Regions from separate parts of the Homo sapiens genome. Here region 2 is linked to region 1. Evidence: promoter capture Hi-C in human tissues and cell types (Jung and others, 2019). All regions are on one chromosome and are shown on one strand. The core of a region is centred on a gene start or on the middle of the fragment in contact, and the rest is flanking DNA. Distances in the headings are between cores, read along the strand shown.

Region 1 (4,435 bases), core at 122-2,621:
CTCTGGTCTGAGCTCTGCTACACATTAATCAGCTGTTCTTGGCAAGTAACTTTATGTTTCTGGAACTTGATGGGTTCATTGTCCAGTTGGAGGTGACCCCTTTTCTACCTTCCTCACAGGGTTATTTGCACAAAGAGTTACTACAGCAAATTCTGCAGTCAATTTATTTGGAGTATTGAACAACAGATACAAATGGTTTTTTTTTAAAAAGGCTATATATGAGAAATATAAATGAGGCATGTTGGCCTCATACTGCCTTTTACTCTGTCTCTGCTCTGTGCCGTGCACTTGTGCATGCTCTCTTTCTCTCTTTCTCTCTCTCTCACTGATGATCTCTCTCACTTTCACTCTCTCTCTCTTGCTGATGCTCTCCCTCACACTATCTTTCTCATTCATTCTCTGTCTTTCTCATTCTCTGTCTCTGACCTTCTTTCCCCCTCATTTTCTTTCTCTGTCTGACACACACACACAATTACACACACATCCGTACCTTCACTTCCTTTTATTTTGCCCTCACTAAAGATACTAAGGAAGCTATAAAATGAAATGAAGCCTGGGGCAGTCTAGACAGGCAGGACCCACTGGTGAGGTCTCCAGGTAAATGATGTCCTTTGTGAATGTCGCACAGCAATCGCCAAGACAAAAAGCTTCAGAACATAAGAGTTGTAGACAAGAAGGAGAACTCATGTGTGACTCTCTAGAAGAGAAGAAAAGGGGCCTTGAGGCTGACATGGCTGCCTCTCAAGTTCTGCGTCAGGGCCAGAATCCAGTCTCTGGACACCCCATCCAGTATCTTTCACACTATACCATTTTATTCTATTTCCTTTCTGATGACTTTAGATGTGTGACTGGCTTTCATTTGGCTACAACTTTCCTTAACTTGCTAGACAAGGTCAACCTCCCCACACCCATGCAGAGTTTAAGATGGAGCCACAGACCCATGACTCAAGTTTACTTACTAGAAAATTCCTCTCTCAATTCTGGTCTGAAGGCCTTGTCCAAGGCCCTGATCTCCTTCAGTTCCTTCTCTTCCACCAACAGGCGGACGATCCTCTGACCCAGAAGCCCTCCTGCTCCTGTCACAAGGCAGCTCCAGCCCATCGTGGCCAATCCAAAGTAGCAGGAAACACTTGCCAGGAAACAGAAGATGCTGGAGAGCAGATCTGATTCTAGCGTGACCCAGAAGAGGGCTAAAAACAAGAGGTAAAATGGTTATACACTCAGCAGATGCCTTATTTTCCTCCACCCCATTTTTTACAAAAATTCCATGACCCCACAACTGCCAGGAGTAGTTGAAAGAAAAGGAGAAAGCTCTAACCGTAACTTAGATTGTTAAAAGCTGGACAGAGGAGTCCAAGTCCTTACTGCCTCATCCCTGGAGGAAGGACTGGAGCTTTATGCTCTGTGGCTTGTGTCTCAGCCCTTATTACCTTGAACTCCTGCCACATACTCATTGCTCCCTCCTCCTCCAGAATCCCTTTTCTCAGAATAATAGTGACCTTTAGGTTATATCTCTAATTCTTCCCAGGAACAGGAAGAGAAATCCAATCTTAAGGCCACAGTGTGATAAAGAGTCTTGGCTTTAGCCTTAACAGAACACTGGTCAGTTGATACCAGCTGTCTGGGATCTGCAATCTGTGAACTTAAACCAAACTGGGAGAAGTCTCCAAGTGCAATGTAAATGTTGTCCTTGTACAGTAAATCCACCTGGAGGGAGATCTATTTTAGCCCATTATCAACTCTCTGAGAGTGTCATTTGAAACGTCACTGCTGTCTTGCAAAGTTTAGAAATTTTCAATGGTGACAGCTCCAATCACTAAGTTTTATGTGAGGTGACTTTCTTTTCCACCCAATATATCCAAAACCTCAATTGCAATTTTTCCCTGGAGAGCTCTGGGTTCCTAATGGAAGAACCTCATTGAAGGAAAGGTATCTAGTGATAACGAATTAATCATATGGCCTGTAATACAAGTGTGGGGATTTGTAGTTGTATGCCCAATGACTCTAATCATAGATATTTGCACTCATCTTACATTTTTGGCTGCAAAACCATTCTTAGCAAATTGTTGAACTGAAGATGCTATGAATGCTTCTGAAACCTATGCCCCAGTCTGCCCAAACATCACTGCCATAAACTCCCCAAGACACTTTTCTCTACTTAAAAAAATAGAGATGTAGTTTTTTTAAGTAGATGTAATCTGGGCATTACAAGGCCCAGATCTTAAGCGTTCAGTGTACACTTAAGTGTTCATTGTCAATGAACCTTGACAGTTATATATGTCCATGTAAGTACCAACGAAAAGAAGACCACCATTTCCTTCACTCCAGAAAGTTTTATCTGCCTGTTCTTAGTCAATTGCCTGCCCTCCCCCGAGTTTACCTGGTAGGCAATTACTTTCTGATTTTTATTCCCACAGAGTTCCCACTTTATTCCTATATTTTCCTAATTTTTTCTTCTAAGATCTTTGTGATTCTGGATATATATTTAAATATAAAATCATTCTGAACTGAAGTTTTGTTCATGGAGTACAGAAAAATTGACCACTGATTGTCTCTATTGTTTGTTCATTTTTCTATTTCATGATTTTCATTATTTTTATTATTGGCTTAAATGTTTATTAACTTTGGGTTTATTTTACTCTTCTTTTTCAGGGTTCTTATGATAAAAGCATAGATAATTGACTTTACTTCTTTGCTCATTTCCACCATAGGCATTTAAAGTTGTAAATTTCTCTCTAAACACTATGTTAGCTGTATCCAACATTTTGATGCATTGGGTTATCATTATTCAGTTACTGACGTTTTGAATTTTTTCTTGTGATGTCTTCTTTGACCCAAGTGTTATTGAGAAGCATGTTGCATGTTTTCTAAAACTGGGGATTTTCTTATTGTTATGTATTTCTAATTAAATATTATTGTGGCCAGAGCATATACTCTGTATGATTTTGATTCTTTGATATATATTGAGATTTGTTTTATGGTCCAGCCTATGGTCTATGTTGGTGGAAATGCCATAAGCACTTCAAAAGAATGCTTTCTGAAGTTGTTGGAAGTCATACTCTACAAATGATTTAGCTTGACTCCCCATTCTGGGTCTTGCCTTTCTCCTGTGTGTAGACATTCACCTTCTACTTGGAACCTGGCTGCCAATGCTTCAAACCCACTTGCCTAGGAAAGGTTGGTCCTGTGATGCAAGGTGTAGCAGCTTGTCTTCTGAAGCTCTCAGAACTAGACACGGGCCCTGGGACTTGTGGAGCACTATCTGAAACCACCCAGGTGCATCACACACCTTTGCCTGCCATATCAGATGCTGGAGTGCACCTTACAGACCCCCATGACCTTCAGGGTGGGACCAAATGTTCCTTCAGCTGTTGAGAGTTCTGGAGGCTCTTAGAGTTCAGGCAGTGTCTCTTGGAGTCTGAGTGGAAGCAATAACTGTAAGCTTTCTTTAAACCAATAAATATTTTGCTTTCTTTAGGAAAGTGAGCAGTAGGACAAAGAGCAAGGCTGCTGGGGGCCACACTACCAACTTTCTGTTTTTAAACAGCTTTACTGAAGTATAATTGACATATTATAACATTCCCATTTTAAGTGTACAGTTCAATTATTTTTAGTAAAATTTTAGACTTGTGTAACCATCATCACAATCCTGTTTTGGAACATTTCTATCTTTCCTAAGAAATCCCTCATGCTTATCATTTGCCACCTCTTATTCCCAGCCCCCAGCTCTAGGCAGCCCTCATGACTTCCTGACTCCACAGATTTGATTTTCTGGACACCATATAACTAGAATCATGTAATATGTGGTCTTTTGCATCTGCCTTCTTTCACATAGCTTAATATACTTATGTGTTTCATCTATGTTGTAGCATGTATCAATATTTCATTCCTTTTAGGTGGCAAATTCTATTAAATTGTATGGATGGCTGCCATTAGTTTATTCATTTATCAGTTGATAGATATTTATGTGTTTCCCCCCCTTTTTTTTTTTTTTTTTTGAGATGGAGTGTCACTCTGTCACCAGGCTGGAGTGCAGTAGCATAATCCCGGCTCACTGCAACCTCCGCCTCCTGGGTTCAAGCGATTCTCCTGCCTCAGCCTCCCGAGTAGCTGGGACTACAGGTGCACGCCACCATGCCCAGCTAATTTTTGTATTTTTAGGAGAGACAAGGTCTCACCATGTTGGCCAGGATGGTCTCGATCTCTTGACCTCATGATCTGCCCACCTTGGCCTCCCAAAGTGCATTATGGATAAAGCTGCTATGAATATTCACATTCATGTATTGTGTAGACATACATTTTTATTTCTTTAGGGTTGACAGGAGTAAAACTGCTAGGTCATATGGTAAGTGCATCTTTAATGTTTTAAGGAACAGCCAAAATGTTTTTGAACATGGCTGCCTGTCCCATCAACAATGCATGAGTATTTCAATTT
Region 2 (4,335 bases), core at 629-3,128, 87 kb before region 1:
GGTAATTTTTGTATTTTTAGTAGAGGCGGGATTTCATCATGTTGGCCAGGCTGATCTAAACTTTTGACCCCAAATGATCCACCCACCTTGGCCTCCCAAAGTGCTGGGATTACAGGTGTGAGTCACCACACCTGGCCAGCTTAATGTTCTTTTGTGGTTCATCTATGTTGTAGCACGTATCAATATTTTACTCCTTTTAGGTGCCAAACCCTATTAAATTGTATGGATGGCTCCCATTTGTTTATTCATTCATCAATTGATCGATATTTGATGTGTTTCCACTTTATGGACTATTATGGATAAAGCTGCTATGAATATTCACATTCATGTGTTGTGTGGACATAGGTTTCTGTTTCTTTGGGGTAGACAGCTAGGAGTGAAAGTGCTAGATCATAAGGTAAATGTATATTTAACATTTTAAGGAACTGGCAATCTGTTTTCCAATGTGGCTGCATGTCCCATCAACACTGCAAGAGTAGTTCAATTTTTCACATCATTGTTTTTCACTTCTTTCAATTGTTTATTTATTTATTTATTTTATTATTATTATACTTTAAGTTTTAGGGTACATGTACACAATGTGCAGGTACATGTGACATGTTGATGTGCTACACCCATTAATTCGGCATTTAGCATTAGGTATATCTCCAAATGCTATCCCTCCCCCCTCCCCCCACCCCACAACTGTCCCCGGAGTGTGATGTTCCCCTTCCTGTGTCCATGTGTTCTCATTGTTCAATTCCCACCTATGAGTGAGAACATGCGGTGTTTGGTTTTTTGTCCTTGCAATAGTTTGCTGAGAATGATGGTTTCCAGCTTCATCCACGTCCCTACAAAGGACATGAACTCATCATTTTTTATGGCTGCATAGTATTCCATGGCGTATATGTGCCACATTTTCTTAATCCAGTCTATCATTGTTGGACATTTGGGTTGGTTCCAAGTCTTTGCTATTGTGAATAGTGCCACAATAAACATACGTGTGCATGTGTCTTTATAGCAGCATGATTTATAATCCTTTGGGTATATACCCAGTAATGGGATGGCTGGGTCAAATGGTATTTCCAGTTCTAGATCCCTGAGAAATCACCACACTGACTTCCACAATGGTTGAACTAGTTTACAGTCCCACCAACATTGTAAAAGTGTTCCTATTTCTCCACATCCTCTCCAGCACTTGTTGTTTCCTGACTTTTTAATGATTGCCATTCTAACTGGTGTGAGATGGTGTCTCATTGTGCTTTTGATTTGCATTTCTCTGATGGCCAGTGATGATGAGCATTTTTTCATGTGTTTTTTGGCTGCATAAATGTCTTCTTTTGAGAAGTGTCTGTTCATATCCTTTGCCCACTTTTTTATGGGGTTGTTTGTTTTTTTCTTGTAAATTTGTCTGGGTTCATTGTAGATTCTGGATATTAGCCCTTTGTCAGATGAGGAGGTTGTGAAAATTTTCTCCCATTTTGTAGGTTGCCTGTTCACTCTGATGGTAGTTTCTCCTGCTGTGCAGAAGCTCTTTAGTTTCAGTAGATCCCATTTGTCAATTCTGGCTTTTGTTGCCATTGCTTTTGGTGTTTTAGACATGAAGTCCTTGCCCATGCCTATGTCCTGAATGGTATTGCCTAAGTTTTCTTCTAGGGTTTTTATGGTTTTAGGTCTAACATGTAAGTCTTTAACCCATCTTGAATTAATTTTCATATAAGGTGTAAGGAAGGAATCCAGTTTCAGCTTTCTACACATGGCTAGCCAGTTTTCCCAGCACCATTTATTAAATAGGGAATCCTTTCCCCATTTCTTGTTTTTGTCAGGTTTGTCAAAGATCAGATAGTTGTAGATATGTGGCATTATTTCTGAGGTCTCTGTTCTGTTCCATTGATCTATATCTCTGTTTTGGTACCAGTACCATGCTGTTTTGGTTACTGTAGCCTTTTAGTATAGTTTGAAGTCAGGTAGCGTGTTGCCTCTGGCTGTGTTCTTTTGGCTTAGGATTGACTTGGCGATGCAGGCTCTTTTTTGTTTCCATATGAACTTTAAAGTAGTTTTTTCCAATTCTGTGAAAAAAGTCATTGGTAGCTTGATGGGGATGGCATTGAATCTATAAATTACCTTGGGCAGTATGGCCATTTTCAAGACATTGATTCTTCCTACCCATGAGCATGGAATGTTATTCCATTTGTTTGTATCCTCTTTTATTTCATTGAGCAGTGGTTTGTAGTTCTCCTTGAGGAGGTCCTTCACATCCCTTGTAAGTTGGATTCCTAGGTATTTTATTCTCTTTGAAGAAATTGTGAATGGGAGTTCACTCATGATTTGGCTCTCTGTTTGTCTGTTATTGGTGTTTAGGAATGCTTGTGATTTTTGCACATTGATTTTGTATCCTGAGACTTTGCTGAAGTTGCTTATCAGCTTAAGGAGATTTTGGGCTGAGACGATGGGGTTTTCTAGATATACAATCATGTCACCTGCAAAAAGGGACAATTAGACCTCCTCTTTTTCTATTTGAATACCCTTTATTTCCTTCTCCTGCTTAATTGCCCTGGCCAGCACTTCCAACACTATGTTGAATAGGAGTGGTGAGAGAGGGCATCCCTGTCCTGTGCCAGTTTTCAAAGGGAATGCTTCCAGTTTTTGCCCATTCAGTATGATATTGGCTGTGGGTTTGTCATAGATAACTCTTATTATTTTGAGATACGTCCCATCAATACCTAATTTATTGAGAGTTTTTAGCATGAAGAGTTGTTGAATTTTGTCAAAGGCCTTTTCTGCATCTATTGAGATAATCATGTGGTTTTTGTCTTTGGTTCTTTTTATACGTTGGATTACATTTATTGATTTAGCGTATGTTGAACCAGCCTTGCATCTCAGGGATGAAGCCCACTTGATCATGGTGGGTAAGCTTTTTTATGTGCTGCTGGATTCGGTTTGCCAGTATTTTATTGAGGATTTTTGCATTAATGTTCATCAAGGATATTGGTCTAAAATTCTCTTTTTTGGTTGTGTCTCTTCCCAGCTTTGGTATCAGGATGATGCTGACCTCATAAAATGAGTTAGGGAGGATTCCCTCTTTTTCTATTGATTGGAATAGTTTCAGAAGGAATGGTACCAGCTCCTCCTTCTACCTCTGGTAGAATTTGGCTGTGAATCCATCTGGTCCTGGACTCCTTTTGGTTGGTAAACTATTGATTATTGCCACAATTTCAGAGCCTGTTATTGGTCTATTCAGAGATTCAACTTCTTCCTGGTTTAGTCTTGGGAGGGTGTATGTGTTGAGGAATTTATCCATTTCTTCTAGATTTTCTAGTTTATTTGTGTAGAGGTGTTTATAGTATTCTCTGATGGTAGTTTGTATTTCTGTGGGATTGGTGGTGGTATCCCCTTTATCATTTTTTATTGCGTCTATTTGATTCTTCTCTCTTTTCTTCTTTATTAGTCTTGCTAGTGGTCTATCAATTTTGTTGATCTTTTCAAAAAACCAGCTCCTGGATTCATTAATTTTTTGAAGGGTTTTTTGATGTCTCTATGTCCTTCAGTTCTGCTCTGATTTTAGTTATTTCTTGCCTTCTGCTAGCTTTTGAATGTGTTTGCTCTTGCTTTTCTGGTTCTTTTAATTGTGATGTTAGGGTGTCAATTTCGGATCTTTCCTGCTTTCTCTTGTGGGCATTTAGTGCTATAAATTTCCCTCTACACGCTGCTTTGAATGTGTCCCAGAGATTCTGATATGTTGTGTCTTTGTTCTCGTTGGTTTCAAAAAACATCTTTATTTCTGCCTTCATTTTGTTATGTACCTAGTAGTCCTTCAGGAGCAGATTGTTCAGTTTCCATGTAGTTGAGCGGTTTTGAGTGAGTTTCTTAATCCTGAGTTCTAGTTTGATTGCACTGTGGTCTGAGAGACTATTTGTTATAATTTCTGTTGTTTCACATTTGCTGAGGAGTGCTTTACTTCCAAGTATGTGGTCAATTTTGGAATAGGTGTGGTGCGGTGCTGAAAAAAATGTATATTCTGTTGATTTGGGGTGGAGAGTTCTGTAGATGTCTATTAGGTCCACTTGATGCAGAGCTGAGTTCAATTCCTGGGTATCCTTGTTAAGTTTCTGTCTCGTTGATCTGTCTAATGTTGACAGTGTGGTGTTAAAGTCTCCCATTATTATTGTGTGGGAGTCTAAGTCTCTTTGTAGGTCACTAAGGACTTGCTTTATGAATCTGGGTGTTCCTGTATTGGGTCCATATTTATTTAGGATAGTTCTTCTTGTCTAATTGATCCCTTTACCATTATGTAATGTCCTTCTTTGTCTCTTTTGATCTTTGTTGGTTTAAAGTCGGTTTTATCAGAGACTAGGA

Evidence for each region. The method cuts DNA at HindIII sites, captures the fragments that hold promoters and counts their contacts. A contact is called where the count stands out against the background at its distance.
Region 2: a fragment that was not itself captured here is called in contact with the fragment with the promoter of HSD3B2 in region 1 in 2 of the 25 tissues and cell types used here (neural progenitor cells and psoas muscle).

Annotation. Positions count from the first base shown.
Region 1 is chr1:119,412,086-119,416,520 of GRCh38, reverse strand. It overlaps HSD3B2 (hydroxy-delta-5-steroid dehydrogenase, 3 beta- and steroid delta-isomerase 2), which reads right to left and starts at 1,371. Exons shown (of 4, transcript NM_000198.4): 1 at 1,319-1,371; 2 at 960-1,190. The coding sequence starts at 1,101. RefSeq lists an enhancer at 405-1,604 and promoters at 1,177-1,894, 1,318-2,444. The HindIII fragment of the contact is 6,350 bases long and covers 318-4,435 here.
Region 2 is chr1:119,500,001-119,504,335 of GRCh38, reverse strand. No RefSeq gene overlaps it. Among named protein-coding and RNA genes, the nearest start is that of HSD3B1, 5.0 kb to the left of the region's middle. RefSeq lists a promoter at 1-7. The HindIII fragment of the contact is 8,718 bases long and covers 1-4,335 here.